Linked DNA regions of Homo sapiens: regions 2, 3, 4, 5, 6 and 7 are each linked to region 1. Evidence: promoter capture Hi-C in 16 types of primary human blood cells and fetal thymus (Javierre and others, 2016). All regions are on one chromosome and are shown on one strand. Each heading gives the region's core, a stretch centred on a gene start or on the middle of the fragment in contact. The rest is flanking DNA. Distances are from core to core; before and after follow the strand shown.

Evidence for each region. Contacts are between HindIII fragments. The CHiCAGO score rates a contact against its expected background, and 5 or more counts as called.
Region 2: a contact is called between a fragment that was not itself captured here and the fragment with the promoter of ADAMTS6 in region 1, in 16 of 17 cell types (M0 macrophages, total B cells, M2 macrophages and 13 more). The highest score is 41.3, in M0 macrophages.
Region 3: a fragment that was not itself captured here is called in contact with the fragment with the promoter of ADAMTS6 in region 1 in 10 of 17 cell types (total B cells, M0 macrophages, M1 macrophages and 7 more); the score reaches 9.9 in total B cells.
Region 4: a contact is called between a fragment that was not itself captured here and the fragment with the promoter of ADAMTS6 in region 1, in 1 of 17 cell types (activated CD4 T cells). The highest score is 7.4, in activated CD4 T cells.
Region 5: a contact is called between a fragment that was not itself captured here and the fragment with the promoter of ADAMTS6 in region 1, in 14 of 17 cell types (activated CD4 T cells, total B cells, non-activated CD4 T cells and 11 more). The highest score is 14.8, in activated CD4 T cells.
Region 6: a contact is called between a fragment that was not itself captured here and the fragment with the promoter of ADAMTS6 in region 1, in 16 of 17 cell types (total CD8 T cells, naive CD8 T cells, activated CD4 T cells and 13 more). The highest score is 22.6, in total CD8 T cells.
Region 7: a fragment that was not itself captured here is called in contact with the fragment with the promoter of ADAMTS6 in region 1 in 14 of 17 cell types (total B cells, naive B cells, activated CD4 T cells and 11 more); the score reaches 16.7 in total B cells.

Annotation. Positions count from the first base shown.
Region 1 is chr5:65,480,604-65,483,226 of GRCh38, reverse strand. It overlaps ADAMTS6 (ADAM metallopeptidase with thrombospondin type 1 motif 6), which reads left to right and starts at 1,307. Exons shown (of 25, transcript NM_197941.4): 1 at 1,307-1,884. RefSeq lists enhancers at 1,105-1,154, 928-1,427, 1,195-1,554. The HindIII fragment of the contact is 619 bases long and covers 880-1,498 here.
Region 2 is chr5:64,968,742-64,971,364 of GRCh38, reverse strand. All of the region lies in intron 11 of CWC27 (CWC27 spliceosome associated cyclophilin), which reads right to left. Among named protein-coding and RNA genes, the nearest start is that of CWC27, 200 kb to the right of the region's middle. The HindIII fragment of the contact is 1,688 bases long and covers 496-2,183 here.
Region 3 is chr5:64,987,768-64,990,390 of GRCh38, reverse strand. All of the region lies in intron 13 of CWC27 (CWC27 spliceosome associated cyclophilin), which reads right to left. Among named protein-coding and RNA genes, the nearest start is that of CWC27, 220 kb to the right of the region's middle. The HindIII fragment of the contact is 1,844 bases long and covers 363-2,206 here.
Region 4 is chr5:65,005,558-65,008,180 of GRCh38, reverse strand. All of the region lies in intron 13 of CWC27 (CWC27 spliceosome associated cyclophilin), which reads right to left. Among named protein-coding and RNA genes, the nearest start is that of CWC27, 240 kb to the right of the region's middle. The HindIII fragment of the contact is 1,652 bases long and covers 474-2,125 here.
Region 5 is chr5:65,023,081-65,025,703 of GRCh38, reverse strand. No RefSeq gene overlaps it. Among named protein-coding and RNA genes, the nearest start is that of CWC27, 260 kb to the right of the region's middle. The HindIII fragment of the contact is 3,595 bases long and covers 1-2,623 here.
Region 6 is chr5:65,039,245-65,041,867 of GRCh38, reverse strand. No RefSeq gene overlaps it. Among named protein-coding and RNA genes, the nearest start is that of CWC27, 270 kb to the right of the region's middle. The HindIII fragment of the contact is 8,098 bases long and covers 1-2,623 here.
Region 7 is chr5:65,058,522-65,061,144 of GRCh38, reverse strand. All of the region lies in intron 1 of LOC107986419 (a long non-coding RNA gene), which reads right to left. Among named protein-coding and RNA genes, the nearest start is that of CWC27, 290 kb to the right of the region's middle. The HindIII fragment of the contact is 3,142 bases long and covers 1-2,623 here.

The sequences.
Region 1 (2,623 bases), core at 58-2,557:
TCCGGTCCAGTTCTCCTTTCTGGTTCTCACCATCGGAAATTGACTTGGCATTAACTAAGGGCTGGAATTTCAAGGCGTCAATTTTCCCCTGCCCCCAACCTCGGAAACTCTTAAACAGCTCCCTATTCTACACTCAATGGTAGAGACAGATAAATGATGCAGCAGATTACACCGTTGAAAGGCAACATTTGTCCTGAGCTATTTTCACATTTTTTCCTGTTTCCGATGTATGTGCCAGACTTTGTTTGCTTGCTTAGGACATGGAAAACACTGGGCATTTTCTCCCCAGCGGCTTTCATTCTCAGCAAATGAAAGTGAAAGTGCTACATTGTAGCGGTATTTTATCCTTAAAGTCTGGACTGGCAGCTTGTGTGTAGGGGGGAGGGAGGGTGGGATTGGGAAGGTTGAAGAACCAGTTTTGAGGTTTTGTTTGTTTATCTTGAGATCGCAGCAGGGTTCCTGTTTTTTTCCCTTCCTTTTTTTTTTTGGTGGTGGGGTCCTACTTCGGATTTATTTTCATTTGGGCAGTCATTGAAGTTTCATTCAATGGACTGACTTAAAAAAATACACTCCACTTGTGGCTTTTCCCGGTTGCACTTTAAAACACCATCCAGTCTCACCCTCATCTGGAAATAATGCAAGCTTCTCTCTTCCTTCCCCCGCTCCCTCCTCCCCTACTTTTTTTTTTTCTTCTTCTTCTTCTTTTAAAGCTCCACATAACCTGAAGTCGATAATCAAATGGAAAATGTGCTGGTATTAGTTTACTTTAGTTTACTTTCCCTTTTGGTGCTAACCTTACTTGCTGAAGTATGTATAAAACACAGGCATTTTGTACACTTGTAGCTACTGAGTCTTGTGCCTGCTGCACGAATCTAAGCTTTAAGTTTCCTCAGAGGCACTGTTTGCGTGCAAGTTTTAACATTTTGATTGTGTGGATTTTAAAAATAAAATTACACGGAGAATGACACCAGAGATCTTAACAGTGACATTAGTCCATCTAAAGTCATTCATCCTTCTCCCTCCCCCTTCATTTTTCCAAGAAACAACTAATAGCAAACCAGGCTAGAATTTCTAAGAGAGTTTAGAGGAGGAGGAGGAAAAGAGGCGGAATGAGATAGGACAGAGAGGTTAGAGAGGCCAGAATTTCTCTCATTCACAGTGTGGAAAAGTTGACATTGTCTAAGCCCTTCTGAATGGCTGGTAGTTGGTTACCCCGATTGTACCTCTACCTCCCCTCCCCCTCCACGTGACGACCCAGGACACATGCGCACCCGACGCAGCCCAGGCACATCTGCAGACTGACGTCAGTGTGCTCTGCCTCCGAGGAAAAGCTGCCAAAATTTTCTCCTGCTGCAATTCAAGTTGGCTGGGGGCCGGTAGTGAGATCTAGGGCTACTTCAACAAAACTTTGCTGCCCTTCCTGCTCCTCTTGTCTTCTTTTCTCCTGATACCTTTTGATGCTCTGCACATGTTATTTGCATAGCAAAGGCACTAAGCTTTCCAGGAAGAGAGGGCACCACTTCCACCCCCAATAAGTCTTTTTTCCCGTCTTTTCTTTCTTTTCCTTTCCTTTTTTGGGGGGTGGGGAGGGAGAGAAAGGGGGTTTGCAAAGGCAGCATCTCAGAGTGATAGCCTAGATGTATTGAAGGCATCTCTTATTCTGCCAAATCGGAAAGTCAGTTCTCTAAAGCCCGGGTTAGCCAGACCATAGGGTTTTATTCTGGCTGCAGAATAACTGGCTGGTGTGGCTTTGCAAAGGGGGGCAAAAAATAAAAAAATAAAAAAAATTAAAAAAAGTTAGAGAGGAGAGGGAGTACGTGAGTCGTCCAGTGCAATCTCTATTGTCTGAAACTTACTTTTTATCAGAATTTGAAGATGAAAACGGTAAGGAAGACTTAACAATATTCAATGGAGCTTTTTTTTTTTAAACCAACAACTTGTGCTTTGCTTGTCTTCCGAATAACGCTTAGAAAACTTTTTTTCTGTGTGTGTGTTTTTTTTTTTTTTTTTAATGGCAATGAGTGAGCTTGACTGAACTCATTTTACAAATAGATATCTTTTTAACTCCAGACTTGTCGGGGGTTGTAGAATTCTGGGACTTGCAGTTATTTTATGATGCAAAAAAAATACGTTTATTTTATGAATATACAATACATGTTTTGTGAAGTGGACTTGATTATGATTATTGTAATCTTTTAACTGATCACCAAATAGTAATCCGGAAGGTAATAATGATGTGTGTGTTTTAAATTGATTTCCAGTTTTCTTACAGAAAAGTCTTATGCATTTTGTAGTTTCATGTCAGTGTCGTTAAGTCTTCAGACAAGTGCATATTTTATGCCTGGGCTCAGAGGGTAGCATTAATGTGCTAGCTGTAGCCCCGATGCTCTAGGACATGTTAAGCTCTTAATAGGCTAATCAAAGAGATGGAAACGTGTGTTTTTGATTTACTTTTGGCCACTTGGGACGTGCTAGACTCATAACCCTCCGGAGCCTTGTTTATCGGGGTAGGTCTGTATATATGGTGTATGGGACCAAAGTTCAGGGATTGAGGAGGGAGAGTGAGAGTGCAGGAATGGGGTATTGGGAAGCCTCTTTCTGATAATATGTGCTACAATTCCTG
Region 2 (2,623 bases), core at 90-2,589, 510 kb after region 1:
ACATTTTTTCCTTGCCTTAGAAGATATAACCTTCCAAATATTGGTTGATATTCCAATTACCTGCCACTTTTGTTCCCCAGTTATAACAATAACAACCTTCAATTTAATGGCATCATAGAAAATAAATATGTCTAACAAATAAGTCAAAACAGTTAGCAAAAGCAGACAAAAATAATCTTTACTGAATTAGAAATTAGAAAACAAATCTATAGGTTTGAACCTGCAATAATTCTATGTGAAGATTAGTTAACATCTTGGTTCATAAAACACAGTTTTGCCTCAAAAACAAACAAGCCAACAAACCCAACTAGTAACATTTTATAATACCTCACATGTGTAAATATCAATGAAATTTGTGACTAAAACACACACACACACACACACACACACACACACACACACACACTCCCTCTCTCTCTCTCTCTTCTCTTTGGCTGGAAGACAAACGATAAGCCAGATGTAATCAAGAATGCTAGTAATCTGTCTACCAAAGCTTTAGTCTGTTAGTTGTCTCTTTGTTATCTAGCTTGAGGAACATCATGAATATGCAATCTATTAACAATCAGCCATTTTGTTCAAGAGATTTTCTGGTCAAAAAAAAAATTTGAACTAAGAAACAAGTTATCTTTTTGTGGTTACCTAATATGATTTTGGTAGAACTTGGAAGGAGAGTCCTGGTTTCAAAACTGACAGCTGCAAACATTAAAAACTGAGCACATTAAGGAAAAATGAACCATTAAATACAGAAATAATATCTAAGGCACACATGCCTAGTAAAGACTAGTATAAAGAGTATGCCATCACGACTGGTATACATGAAGTGATTCTTATAGTAGGTTTAAAAATTACTTTCGGCCGGGCGTGGTGGCTCACGCCTGTAATCCCAGCACTTTCGGAGGCCGAGGTGGGCGGATCACGAGGTCAGAAGATCGAGACCATCCTGGCTAGCACGGTGAAACCCCATCTCTACTAAAAATACAAAAAATTAGCCGGGCGTGGTGGCGGGCGCCTGTAGTCCCAGCTACTGGAGAGGCTGAGGCAGGAGAATGGCGTGAACCCGGGAGGCGGAGCTTGCAGTGAGCCGAGATCGCGCCACTGCACTCCAGCCTGGGCGACAGAGCGAGACTCTGTCTCAAAAAAAAAAAAAAAAAAATTACTTTCATATTTTTCTACTGAATTACATCTTTGAATACCTCTCTTCTTCTTATCCTACAGTAGTTAGATTTGCATTGTCCTGGGATAAAGAGCAAGCACTTTAAGATGACTTAGGATCCCTACATGAGGCAGTTAATGCTTTGCTTTCCAGTTACGTCTCTCAAGAGACAACTCCTTTGCCGTATCCACCTTCATGTGCTTTCACTTGGCTGATAACTAGTATTCTTAAACCCTGCTCTCTTGACCAACCATCCGCCTTTGCACATGCTTTTCTTCCTTCAGGGATACTGCAAATACTTCATCTCTCCGTTCTTGTTAATTCTCCTTGCTTAATTCCGGCTCCTCCTTTAGGTCTCAGCTTGGTTGGCACTTCAGTGAGCCTTTTCTGATTCCGTTCTTGAAGTCTGGTTTAGATGTCTCTCCTTTGAGCTTCCAAAGCACCCTTTAGCACTTATCACACTTTATGGCGATTTCCTGTTTACTCTTCTTTAAACTCACTAGACATTAACTCCTTGAGGACAAATCATATTTGTCCTCATTTTTTTTTCTTATTTCATTTCATGTCCTCATTTCATTTTCTTAAGTGTATCTTTCAAAGATACACTTAGGACAGTGCTTGGCAAGTGATTCAATAAATAGTCAAATAAATGAAGTAATAATGTAATTGAAGAAGGGGAAAATAAGAAGGTGTAGGGTAATTTGCCCTCTTCCCCTCGCCAGCCTCAGTTATAGTTAGCATTTGCCATGCACCTGGAATCTCCTGTTCCATTGCATTTAGGGAGTCAATAATTATTTTCTGCCATTTCCTAGGGCAGAAGTTTGTAAAATTCTAAGGAAAATTGTGATGGGTATCAGTAGAACTGTTTAATGTTTTTATGGTTAAAAAAATGCAAAAGAGAAAGGACAAGTTCTTTGCTTACATTTTCAGCTAAAAAAGATTGAAAACCTTTATGTGTGGTAAGAATTTTGCAATAAATGGAAAAGATATAGATGAATTCTGCTATCTCATGTCATAGGTAAGTTAAGCTTACAACTTTCAAAACAGATTCAGCATTGCTTATTTTAATGTTTCACACGCATCTTCTTGAACACGGTCCCTTTTAGCAAGGACCAACCACTTAATTTCACTTATTAGGAATGTGAAGGAAGTAGGAAAATGTTTAAAAAGTGCTATAAAGAAGCCTTACAAATCAATTTTAAAAAGTCAAGGATAGGTACATTTAAGTATATAATAAAGCATGGAAATTCTGTAGCTATGTTGTTTATAATACTAAATGGCCTTTTAATAACTTAGAAATAGCAGTCACCTCATTAAGGAAACTAAATGCATGAAATGATAGAATTTTTAAAAACAGCTGTATTGAGGTAGGCATTACATATAGTAAAACTCACTAATTTTGTATATAAAATGTGATGACTTTTGGTATTGTATAGAGCATATAACTTCCACTGCAATCAAGATCTAGAA
Region 3 (2,623 bases), core at 35-2,534, 490 kb after region 1:
TGGGAGGCTGAGGAAGGAGAATGGCGTGAACCCGGGAGGCGGAGCTTGCAGTGAGCCGAGATCCCGCCACTGCACTCCAGCCTGGGTGATAGAGCGAGACTCCGTCTCAAAAAAAAAAAAAAAACAAAAAAAAAAAAAACAAAAAAAAAACAAATAAAAACTCTAGAGCTCTGATAAAGGCTACATAAAGCATAATGACAGTAACTAGTGAAAATATTACTCTCCAAAAGTTGATGAATGAATATTTGTCTTGCAGTTGATCATTCAGTTGAAATTCTTGGCAAGAAGAACAAGAGGGAGTACTTTATAACTAGTGAATAGAAAACAGATAGACTTCCTTAGAGATTATTTAGCAACAAGCTTTTAGAGTAAAATACACTCTCCTTTTGACTCCATGAACTACCAGTATTGCTTTTTTTTTTTCTCAGATTAACTGAGCCAAATACCTTTTATTAGCTTGATTTAAGCATCAGGTACTAGCCTATTATGCACCATCTGTCAGCTGGGGATCTCTGTACCCCTCCACACCCCACAGAAATCTAAATCTCTCCAAAGAATTTCTGCTAATTGTCAGCATGTCTCATGATCATCAGGCCTCCTTTGCCTCTTGTGCTCTAGCTTCCTCTGGCCTACACCATGCAAAAATAATTTGAATCTCTGCCATCCTGAGTCTCCAACCAAACAGCACCCACAAGAGCACAACTTTACTGAAGGCTGTTAAGAGATCCTGGAGATAGGTCATGTCAACCACTGCACCTCTCAATACCAATCCCTCCCTTTCTTCTTATCTCAAGATAGCAGTTTGGTGATCACCTTTTGTGATTTGAGGATGTTCCTAAGGTACTGTTTTTCAACTTCTCTCTGGTGAACCATATCAAGGCACAGTGCTTTTCCCAAGAAATACATTATTCTCTCTAATAGCAATTCATTGCCAACTATTAAGAAATCTTTTTTTAAAGAAAAAAATTTGCTCATGCTGAGAATTATTCAGTACCATCTAAATGTTTGTTTTTTAAAAAAGGATCTTAACAGAACCTGAAAGAAATGAGATAGCCTACTACATGAGACAATTTGGCATAAGCCAGTTTGAGACAACTCACTAGTTATACAGAAATCTTAAAAGAGGAAAAGCAGAACAGTACATATGTGAGAATCTCCAAAGGGGTTTGGAAAAATGGTAGTATTGATAAACAACTCTGAGAAGCTGTGGCCCCAAGAGAATGGGATAAAACCCTGCTGCTTTTCCCCCTTTCTTTTCTATCCCAGCATGGCTCTGAATGAGGGCACAGTTGCAAAAAGTGCATGGTAGAACAGTGTAACTAAAGATCCAACGTTCTGGCTGGAGGAAGAAAAGGGGAGGCCCACGACAATAGAAGGTATTGAGGAGACTGTAAAGGGAAAAGGGAATCCATAAAGTCAGTGCATGTGTCAATCCAATGCTAAACTGCATATCAAAGACTCTGAGAACTTAACTAAAAGATAGTCTAGGCTTGGCGTGGTGGTTCATGCCTGTAATCTCAGCACTTTGGAAGGATGAGGTGGGTGGATCATCTGAGGTACGGAGTTCGAGACCAGCCTGACCAACATGGAGAAACCCCGTCTCTACTAAAAAATACAAAATTAGCCACATGCGGTGGCGCATGCCTATAATTCCAGCTACTCAGGAGCCTGAGGCAAGAGAGTCTCTTGAACCCGGGAGGTGGGGGTTGCAGTGAGCCAAGATTGCACCATTGCACTACAGCCTGGGCAACAAGAGTAAAACCCCGTCTCAAAAAAAAAAAAAAAAAATAGTCTAACAGCCAGGTCCCACGCTGGACAGCGGGTGGCGTATACATGGGACAGATACAAATAGCAATGCAAATGCATTGAGAACAAGACTAAGATTGAAACCAAATCCCACAGAAGGGTGATCAGAACTTGTGGCCTGAACCCAAATGGGTTGTCTGCTATAACATAACATTTTTCATAGGATTTAAATAAGACCCAGAGACTCATAATATTCAAAATGTTTAGGATACAATAAAAAAAAATTACTTGGCATAAGAGAATCATACAAATCTTAACTTGCACGGGAAAAGACAATCAACAGATGCTAATACTGAGATAACAGGCACTGGAATTATTTGACACAGACTTTTAAACAGTTATTGTAAAAAAGCTGAAAGAAGGGCAAACACTGTTGAAATAAATGAGAAGACAGAAAGCTTCAACATAAAAATAAATACAAATAAAAGTTTTAGAACTGAAAAATACAATAATCAAAATTTAAAACCCACTGCAAGGGCTCAGTAGCAGAATGGAGGTGACAGAGAACACCAAAGGTCTAAAATTCATGTCACTAGAGTCCTAGAATAGAGAAGAAGGAATGTGTTGAGGATAAAATAATTTAAGAAATAATGTCTAAAAACCTCCCAAATTTGGTGAAAGACACAAACCTACAGATTCAAGAAGCATAGCCAACATCACACATAGTAAACCCAAAGGAATCTATACCTACTCATGCAAATCAAACTTGCAAGAACAAAAGATGAAAAAATCGTAGAGAAAAATAATGCATTATTTATAAGGAAACAACAATTTGAATAAGTAAAGATTTTCCAAAAGAAACCATGCAGAACAGAAT
Region 4 (2,623 bases), core at 50-2,549, 480 kb after region 1:
TATATTCAATGAAGCAATACTGATAGGTTGTTATTAAGTAAAGTCCAAAATTTATTTAGATTTCTTTAGTGTTATGGACCAAATTGTGTTCCTGCAAAATTCATACATTGAATACATTCATACATATACATACAAATATACTATGTGACCATATTTGAAGATAGGGCCTTTAAGCAGGCAATTAAGATTAAATAAGGTCATAAGGGTGGGACAGCAATCCAATAGGACTTGTATCTTTATAAGAAAATGATGAGGCTGGGCACGGTGGCTCACGCCTGTAATCCCAGCACTTTGGGAGGCCGAGGCGGGCGGATCACGAGGTCAGGAGATTGAGACCATCCTGGCTAACACGGTGAAACCCCGTCCCTACTAAAAATACAAAAAAATTATCCGGGCATGGTGGCTGGCGCCTGTAGTCCCAGCTACATGGGAGGCTGAGGCAGGAGAATGGCGTGAATCCGGGAGGCGAAGCTTGCAGTGAGGGGAGATTGTGCCACTGCACTCCAGCCTGGGGGACAGAGCGAGACTCCATCTCAAAAAAAAAAAAAAAAAAAGAAAATGATGAGACATGAGGAGCACATGAGCACAGAAGAAAGACCATGTGAGGATACAGCAAGAAGATGGCTGTCTGCAAGCCTGGAAAAGAGACCTCACCAGAAACCAATCCTGCTAGCATCTTGATCTTGGACTTCCAACCAACAGAACTGTGAGAAAATAAATGTTGTTTAAGCTACCCAGTCTGTGAGATCTTGTTTATAGCAACCCAAGTAGAGCAATATCCTTAGCTTTTACTTGATATCCTTTTTCTGTTCCTGAATCCCATTCAGGATACCATATTACATTTAGTTGTCATGCCTCCTTAGCCTACTCTTGGCTGTGGCAAGTTTTCAGAATTTCTCTGTTTTTGATCACCTTGACAGTTTTGAGGAATACTGGTCAGATGTCACAGGGCTGCAATTCAACATTTTTCTCATGATAAGACTGGGCTTATGGGTTATTGGGAGAAAGGCCTTAGATGTAAAATGCCATTAGCATCACATCGTTTCAAGGGTACATACTAGCAACATGATTTATGACTGTTAATGTTGACCTTGATCACTTCACTGAGGTAGTGCTTGTCAGGTTTCTACACTGCAAAATTACTCCTTTCTTTCTTTTCTTTCTTTCTTTCTTTCTTTCTTTCTTTCTTTCTTTCTTTCTTTCTTTCTTTCTTTCTTTCTGTCTTTTTAAATAAACGTGTATTTTAGGTTTGGGGGTATATGTGAAGGTTTGTAACATAGGTAACGTGTCATGGGGGTTTATTGTACATGTTATTTCATCATCCATGTATTAAGCCCAATACCTAACAGTTATCTTTTCTGCTTGAAGTTACTCTTTTATTTCTTGCTTTCCATGATGTACACTTTGAAAGGAAGTCACCATGCGTAATCCATACCTAAGGAGTGAGAAATTATGTTTCCCTACTCTTTTTATTAGAACATTTTGTGGCTATATTTGTTTGCATGTTTCTCTCCCTCCTTCTACTGGTATTTTTATTTGAATTATATTAGGTTTATAAAATAATTTTTAGGTAATTTGGTTTTTGTCAAAAATTAAGTATTCTAGAAACATAGTATATCAATGTACTCCTTTAATAGGTTGCAGTTTTCTTAATTTTACATAAAGATTTTAATAAATCTTTATAAAGGCTATTGCCAGGTAATTTATATTTGGTGAGTTAGAATCTTAAAAATTATGTTTTCATAATTTCAAAAATTATGTGGTTGTTTCAGAGCAACTATGACTTTTTGTGTACTTATTTTGTATCTGGTCACAATACTGACCTCTCAGAACTTTTGGTAGATAGCCTTGGATTCTTTAAATATGCAAGTAACTTAGCTTCCTGTATTCCATTTTACAAATGTGCAACTAAAGGTCTCAGAATTAGTTGCCAAGCTGAAGCCAGATTCCTAGTTCACTGGAAAACTTGGAAGCCTAAATATGACTAATACTTTTACAGGTACTTTTGCAGCTATTGAAAAACAAAGAACAAAATAGTGTCTGGATAATTGTTGACTATGCTAACAAACATTTGGCACTTATTATAATGTTAAGAAATCACAAGCAACACAAAAATCACAAAGCTTTAGATTCATTTCAAATGAGTTAATTAAAACAAGCTATATAAAGAATGATGACATTACTAACACTAAATATCAAAACCAGTTTTTCTCCTATGACTCTCGGTTTGCTTTGGCTACTGTTTAAAATATAAATGGCTGTTTTGTTTTAAATTTTTGATATTTTCCTAGGATTTCTAGAGTATGTTTTAAAATATTACTTGGATGCTTTTATTTCTATATTTTATAACTATCAAATGTAATTTTTAGGAAAAGCCTTATGAATATTTAATTTTAGGGCTTTTCTCTATTACTGATTACAAGTAACTTAGGGTTCTCTTTTCATAATTGTTCACAGATTCTTTAGGAATTAAGAAACTACAGGGTTTAGAGAGGTTTACTTCACCCACTACCAGTGCTAGTGTGTGTTGTCCAGGGAAGAGGGGATCAGACTGCCTCATCTACTGCTGTTAGTGCCTATACTTGTTGTCTGGGGGCCTGAGGACAGGCCTGCCCCATCTGTC
Region 5 (2,623 bases), core at 63-2,562, 460 kb after region 1:
TGGAACAACAGTGAACAAAACTGACAGAAATCCTTTCCTTCATGGAGGTCATTCTAGGGCAGGAGAGGGATGATAAAGAATAAATTAACCTCTTTAAGGCTCAGTTTCCTCATCTATACAATTGATAGCAAGAGTCCCTACTTCATGGGGTTGTTTGTAAGAATTAAGCAAATAAGGCAAAGTACGTGGGAGTTAATAGCCCTATTGAATACAACTAAACAGGGAGATTGAGAGACTGAGCGTGTGGGAGGGGTGGCTGGAATTTTAAAGTAGAGTGATTATTGTAGGCCTCATTGAGAAGGTGCCATTTGAGTAAAGACTTGAAGGAACTGAGGGAGTTGGCCATGTGGACATCCTAGGGGCAGTATTCTGGGTGGAGGGAACAGCCATTGCAGAGGCCCTGAGATGGAACACACCTAGCTTACTTGATGAACAGCAGGAAGGATAGTGTGGCTGGTGCAGAATAAGTGATGGAGAAGGTAGTAAGAGAGAAAGTCAGAGAGACTGAGAGGAAGAGGTGGTAACTGCAAAGAGCCTTAGGCCTTTGTAAGGACCTAGGCTTTTACTGTGAATTAAATGGGGAATCATTGAAGGGTTTTGAACAGATAAGTATAACAACATGACTTGTTTTATAAAGTGTAACTGGCTTCTATGTTAATAATAAATTATAGGAAAAAAAGGGTGAAAGTTTATTATAGCAGTCCACATGACAGTTGATGGTCCCTTTGACTAGGGTGGTAGCAGTGGGAAGTAGCAAATAATGGTAAAATTCTGGAAATATTTTGAAGGTGGAGTCAACAGAATATCATAACAGACTGAATGTGTGAGATAAAGACTGGAATCCAAGCTATTTGGCCTGAGTAACTGGAAATTGCATTATGGGCAATGCAATTATCACGTTGCCCATAATGGAGATGGGAAAATTACAGAGGAAGCAGGTTTGGTGGAGGCAGGGCTGGGAAGTGTAGATGACAGTTACATTTTGGACATGGTAGGTTTGATGGACATTATGGAATTTCACTCTGAAATGGATCTAGTCCTCACATAATATCATGTATAACTTTTCCAGATTAATTTAAAAATCACTTGTTGAATTCTTTTGTTCCTTGGGAAATAGTATCCCATTCTTAATTAGTCTATTCACTTACGCCAATAATATGGTATTGTTACAAAGTTTTGTAATAGAAATAAAATGGTCATATTCCTCTTATTCTAAATAAAATATTTCCTTAAAATTGCAAATTAAAAAATAATACACACCACACAAAAAGAAGGAAACCTTCTAATTGTAAGTTTACTCACAGCTGTTGAGAATGAACCATACAACATATACTTTAGTCATTTATTTTCCATACATGGTATGCTTCATTTCAAATATATTCTTTTTTTTTTTTTTTTTGAGACGGAGTCTTGCTCTGTCGCCCAGGCTGGAGTGCAGTGGCGCGATCTCGGCTCACTGCAAGCTCCACCTCCCGGGTTCACACCATTCTCCTGCCTCAGTCTCCCGAGTAACTGGGACTACAGGTGCCTGCCACCATGCCCGGCTAATTTTTTGTATTTTTAGTAGAGATGGGGCTTCACTGCGTTAGCCAGGATGGTCTGGATCTCCTGACCTCGTGATCCGCCCGCCTCGGCCTCCCAAAGTGCTGGGATTACAGGCATGAGCCACTGTGCCTGGCCTTTTTAATTAATTAAATAATTAATTTATTTATTTTTATTTTTTTTGAAACAGATTCTCGCTCTGTTGCCCAGGCTGGAGTGCAGTGGCATGATCTTGGCTCGCGGCAACCTCCGCCTCCCATGTTCAAGGGATTCTCCTGCCTCAGCCTCCTGAGTACCTAGGACTACAGGTGCGTGCCACCAGGCCCGGCTCCTTTTTTTTTTTTTTTTTTTTGAGACAAGAGTTTCGTTCTTGTTGCCCAGGCTGGAGTGCAATGGCATGATCTCAGCTCACCACAACCTCTGCCTCCTGGGTTCAAGCCATTCTCCTGCCTCAGCCTCCCGAATAGTTGAGATTACAGGCATGTGCCACCACGCCCGGCTAATTTTATATTTTTAGTAGAGATGGGGTCTCTCCATGTTGGCCAGGCTGTTCTCGAACTCCTGACCTCAGGTGATCCACCCATCTTGGCCTCCCAAAGTGCTGGGATTACAGATGTGAGCCACTGCACCTGGCTCATTTTTGTATTTTTAGTAGAGAGAGGGTTTCACCATGTTGGCCAGGCTGGTCTCGAACTCCTGACCTCAGGTGATCCTTCTGCCTCAGTCTCCCAAAGTGTTGGGATTACAGGCATGAGCCACCGCTTCTGGCCTCAAATATATTCTTATTAAAGTGTTTGAATATCATAATAAATCTCTAGAGTAAATTCAGAAAATAAATAGGAAAGTCACTTGAGTGTCCTGCTTTTAAAATTATCCTGATTACTTTTAAAAAGTGCCATAACTTTAGCAATGACTATCATTTTTGGCATCATGAGAATGAGAAAATAATAATTTCCTAAAAGACCAAGAACAGCTTCTTTCTGACTGGTGCTGTGAAGAAAGCCTCCAGAAGATGTTTAACATGAATTAGCACCATGATCTAATCTTAAGGAAATAATTCCCAGCAGATGTGGAAAAGAGA
Region 6 (2,623 bases), core at 57-2,556, 440 kb after region 1:
AGTTGAGTTATTGCCAGCTCCTGCCCCTTTAAGTGTCTCTGTCTCCTGGGCAGATATGAGCACTGTATTCAGAATTACTAATCTTTTCTGGGACCTTTTCTCTAAATTCCAAATCACATAAGGGGAAGTGGTGAGGATGAACCTTCCCCAAACCCCACATTTCTGTAGCTCTAGAGGATATTGACTCATGGTGGAGCATTTATTTCAAATAGAAAACAGCACAAACCAAAAGACTTGAGGAAGTACCTCCTCCCACTCTTGTTTCCAAATTCCATTCAGGTTTGGAACTTTTTGAACAATTTTTATTTTGAAACATGAAAAGGTGGAAGAATCCAGCCTCTTTCTGCTAAGAGTAGACATAAAGATAAGCATCTCTCCTCAAAGGTACAGGATTATGTTACCCTTCTGGAATCCTGGTAGCCAATTCAAGTTGTTTTTGAAGCACAATGCTACCCATGAGGCCCAAACCAAAAGAACCAGACATTCCAGATTGACTCAAATAATTCCATTTTTTAAATGTAATGTTCTGGCACCTCTGTGATGACCATATTTGTTCCAGTTTTCATCACACCCTGTGATATTGAATGGCAAGACCAAGAACAAAATGCTTCTTTGAATAACTCCGCTGCCTTCCTACCTTGAGGCTGTCAGGTATGGGATACAGTTTGTTGGGAATTAAAGGAAAACAAAATTTCCACTCAAGAATTGAATTCTTTCAACAAATATAAAGAGAGGAAAAATTGTTTTGTGGTTTATTGTGGGGAAGAGAACTCTTAGAAAAAACAATAGGAGGAAATTCTCAATAGAAACTATGGATCTTTGATGAACTTTTCATTTCTGCATGATTAGAGAATTATTAACAGCCAAAACAAAACCTATTTTCTTCTTACTGTGTCTTATCCAAGTATTTAGTAGGGAGAAAAATGACATTAGCGACTATTGAGCCATTTGATTCCCAAACACATAGTAACTTGGCTTTGAAGGCAAGTCACAATGCTTCTAGGAAACCCCAAGATGGGAAGATTAAACTCTTTTCATTCTCTTTGAACTATTTGGAAACATTCACAGCTTGGAGCTGGGATGTCCATTCTATTGTCCACGGAGTTAGCTGTGTTGTCTCTGACTCCACAAAACACGAGTTTCTAACTGAACTGGGAGAGAGTTCTCCTGTACTGTGTCTAGTCTGTGTAGGCCAGACTTTATCAGTTTTTGGTACTCTGTGATAATTACCCTTGCCAAACACACTTGTCAGAATTATTCCCTAAAACACACTTGATTAATGGGCTTATCAATACCATTATATCTTGAATAATGCATATTAGTCCCAGATGACTATCTTTTCAGTTAAAAAATGAATTTAAACAAAGTGTAAATGTAAACATATTTCCAACTCAGAGTTCCATTTCAACCACTGAAGCACATCCTAGCACTAAGTCCTTTATTATTTTTGACGTTTATGACTTTGTGTTTGTTGGAAACAAGTTTTCAGGTGGCTATATCTGTTTTTTTATATTTATGACTCTTTTGTACTTATTGGAAATAAACAAGTTCTCAGTCTTCTATCTGTAAAATAAAACAAGAACTGCTTCACAAGAATCTTAGGATAATTAAATAAGATGATAGACATAAAGTAGTGGTCATATAGTAAGTGTTCTATAAATATTATGACTTAATTCCTTTAGCTCTATGGTAGACATACAGAGATTTGGGGAGATGATTTAAGTATATTAATTTTTATCTTTTTTTTTTGAGATAGAAGTTTTCTCTTGTTGCCCAGGCTGGAGTGCAGTGGTGTGATCTCGACTCACTGCAACCTCTGCCTCCCAGATTCAAGCGATTCTCCTGCCTAAGTCTCCCTAGTAGCTGGGATTACAGGCATGCTCCACCACACCTGACTAATTTTTTTGTATTTTTAGTAGAGACGGGGTTTCACCATGTTGGCCAGGCTGGTCTCGAACTCCTGACCTCAGGTGATCCACCTGCCTCAGCCTCCCAAAGTGCTGGGATTACAGGCGTGAGCCACCGCACCCGGCCTCTATTTTGTAATTAATATATTTACTTTTCATTGTAAAACAAGGGATTTCTATAGCAATTCAGAGCTTAATTTTTGTCTGTTAGCTAACTTACAAAATTTAAGCCTTTCGCGATTTGCTTTCAAGGCCCTCTGCCCTTTGGGTCCTATTGTACACAACCCTTTTCATGCTCCCAATTCATCAGTCCCTGTCCTGTCCTTTCACACATTCCACAGTTTCTTGTATCATGTTTCCCCTATCTAAAAAACTTCTTTTCCATTTCCCTTTATTATAATCTCATTCTTCCTTTAAGGTCCAGTTCAATCATTCTTTTCTTCTACAAAGACACTTCTGATTTCCTTGGTCCAAAAATAATGTCTCCCTCATAGTCATTCTTATGAAATTGAGTATTTTTAAACAATTTCAAATTTAGAAGAGGGCAACATTTACAGAAAACTTGCAAAGATTGCACAGAGATTTCCCACGTACTCCTCAACAAGTTTCCCCCAATGTTCACATCTTATATTACTATGGTCTATTTGTCCCAACTAAGAATCTAATATTGGTATACACACTGAACGCTTGTAACTTACGTTGTAGCTGACTATTAA
Region 7 (2,623 bases), core at 40-2,539, 420 kb after region 1:
TGAAGAGGGAGTAAAGTCTGAACTCCAAAGCACCATTTATAAGATCAGCCCCTGCCTTTTCCTTGTTCTATCTCCCATTGTTCTCCTCTGCAACCTTTGTTCCATCCACACTGTTCTCCTGCTGTTGTGCTGTTGCATATCTGTCCTCTCTCCCAGCATAGCCCCTGCCTCATTCCTCTCCCTGCTCCCATCAGCTGAGTAGCTCCTACTTGTCTTTCACAACCGAGGTCAGTACCTCTCCCCTGGAAGGTCTTCCCTGCCGACCTGAGCTTAGGCAGGAGCCATCCCATGTGCACCCAGTGGATTCTTCTGTCAAACCCTTACCATTCTGCTTATTTAGCTCCTCAAAAGCAGGGACTGAATTTTATTATCATTCTCTAGCTCTTAATGTCCTAGGCTTCAGGGATACTTGGTGAACAAGAAAGTCAGGCCATCTGGCTGTGAACTAGACATCTCTACATGGATGTCTCACTGGCTCCTCATACTAAATTAACCTGTGCCTTTACCTGGCATCTTTATCATTCAACCTTATCAACCATCTTTGACTCTTTTCTCTCTCCCCCACCTCCTTTATTTAATCATCCACTAAATCCTGTGTATTTAAATAACAATCAGACTTAGAGCTTAATATGCTTTAGGCATTATGAAAAGTCCTATATAGGTATATGTTAACTCATTTCAGCCTCACAACAACCCAAAAGGTGGAGTCTCTCATAGTATACAGATGAGGAAATTGAAGCAAAAGAAGGTGAGTAATTTGCCTGAAGTCACACAGCTTAAAAGCGATGGAGCTAGGATTGGAACCCAGGCAGTCTGGATTCAAAGCCCTACCTCCTAAATATTTCTCAGTCCCACAGGCCGCCGTTACCTCATTCCTCCTGCAATCCATTCCCCATAATGTAACCAGAGCAATTTTTCCAAATAAACTCTCCTTAAAAACTTCCACTGCTCCCTAACATACTCTAAACAGAATTCCAATAACTTTAGACACTGATAAGCCCTTTTCCTGTCTGCTCTTGCCCACCTTCCAGCCTTGACTCTTGCGACCCTTCCTCTCAAAGCCTGAGCTGTTCTGCAGTTGGTTTCTGTGTGTGAAACATTGTAGACTCATTCTCCCTGCTAGCCTTCAGCCTCATCTTAGATGTGACTTACATCAGGAAGCCCTCTGTATGAGTCTGTTCTCACACTGCTATAAATAACTACCTGAGACTGGGTATTTATGAAGAAAGAGGTTTAATTGACTCACAATTCCACAGACTGTACAGGAAGCATGGCTGAAAGGCCTCAGGAAACACAAAATCATGGCAGAGCTCAAGTGCCTAGAGTGCAGCAAGGCTGTGCAGGGCAGCATGGCCACAGGCCTGGCCCATGAAACCTTTCAGTCCTCCTAGGCCTCCGGGCCGGTGATGGGAGGGGCTGCCACACAAAGATCTCTGAAATGCCTTGGAGGCCTCTTCTCCATTGTCTTGGCTATCAGCACTTGGCTCCTTTTCACTTATGCAAATTTCTGCAGCCTGCTTGAATTTCTCTCCTGAAAATGGGCTTTTCTTTTCTACCACATGGCCAGGCTGCAAATTTCCCAAAGTTTTATGCTCTGTTTTCCCTTTGAATATAAGTTCTAGGCTGACTGTGATGGTTCATGCCTGTTATCCCAGCACTTTGGGAGGCCGAGGCGAGTGTATCACTTGAGGTCAGGAGTTTGAGTTAGTCAGCCTGACCAACATGGTGAAACCCCATCTCTACTAAAAATACAAAAATTAGCCAGGTGTGATGGCAGGCACCTGTAATCCCAGCTACTCAGGAGGCTGAGACAGGAGAACCACTTGAACCTGGGAGGTGGAGGTTGCAATGAGCAGAGATTGTTCCACTGCACTGCAGTCTGGGCAAGAGTGAGACTCTTTCTCAAAAAAAAATATATATAAATATAAATATAAGCTCCAAATTTAGGTCATTTTTTTTGCTCACGTAATATGTTGTTAGTAGCAGCCAGGCTACATCTTGAATGCTTTACTGCTTAGAAATTTCTTCTACCAGATATCCTAAATCATCATGTTCAAGTTCAAAGTTCCACAGATCCCTAAGGCAGGAGCACAATGCAGCCAAGTTCTTTGCTAGGATATGATAGAAGTGACTTTTGCTCCAGTTCCCAATACATTTTTCATTTCCACCTGAGACCTTCTCAGCCTGGACTTCACTGTCTACATTTCTATCAGCATTTTGGTCACAAACATTTAGCAAGTTTCTAGGATGTTCCAAACTTTTTCATCTTCCTGTCTTCTTCTAAGTTTTTACAGTCTTCCAAACTCTGCCTGTTACCTAATCTCAAAGCTGCTTCCCTTCCACATTTTCAGGTATCTTTATAGCTCTACCCCACTTCTGAGACAAAATCTCTGTTTTAGTCAGTTCTTGCTGTGCTATAAAAAAATACCTGAGACTGGATAATTTATAAAGAGAAGAAATTTAATTGACTCACAGTTCCACAGGCTATAGAGGAAGCATGATTCTGACATTTGCTTGGCTTCTGAGGAGGCCTCAGGAAACTTACAGTCATGGTGGAAGGCAAAGGGAATTGAGGCATCTCACATGGTGGGAGCGGGAGCAAGAAAGAAGGGGGCAGTGCTAC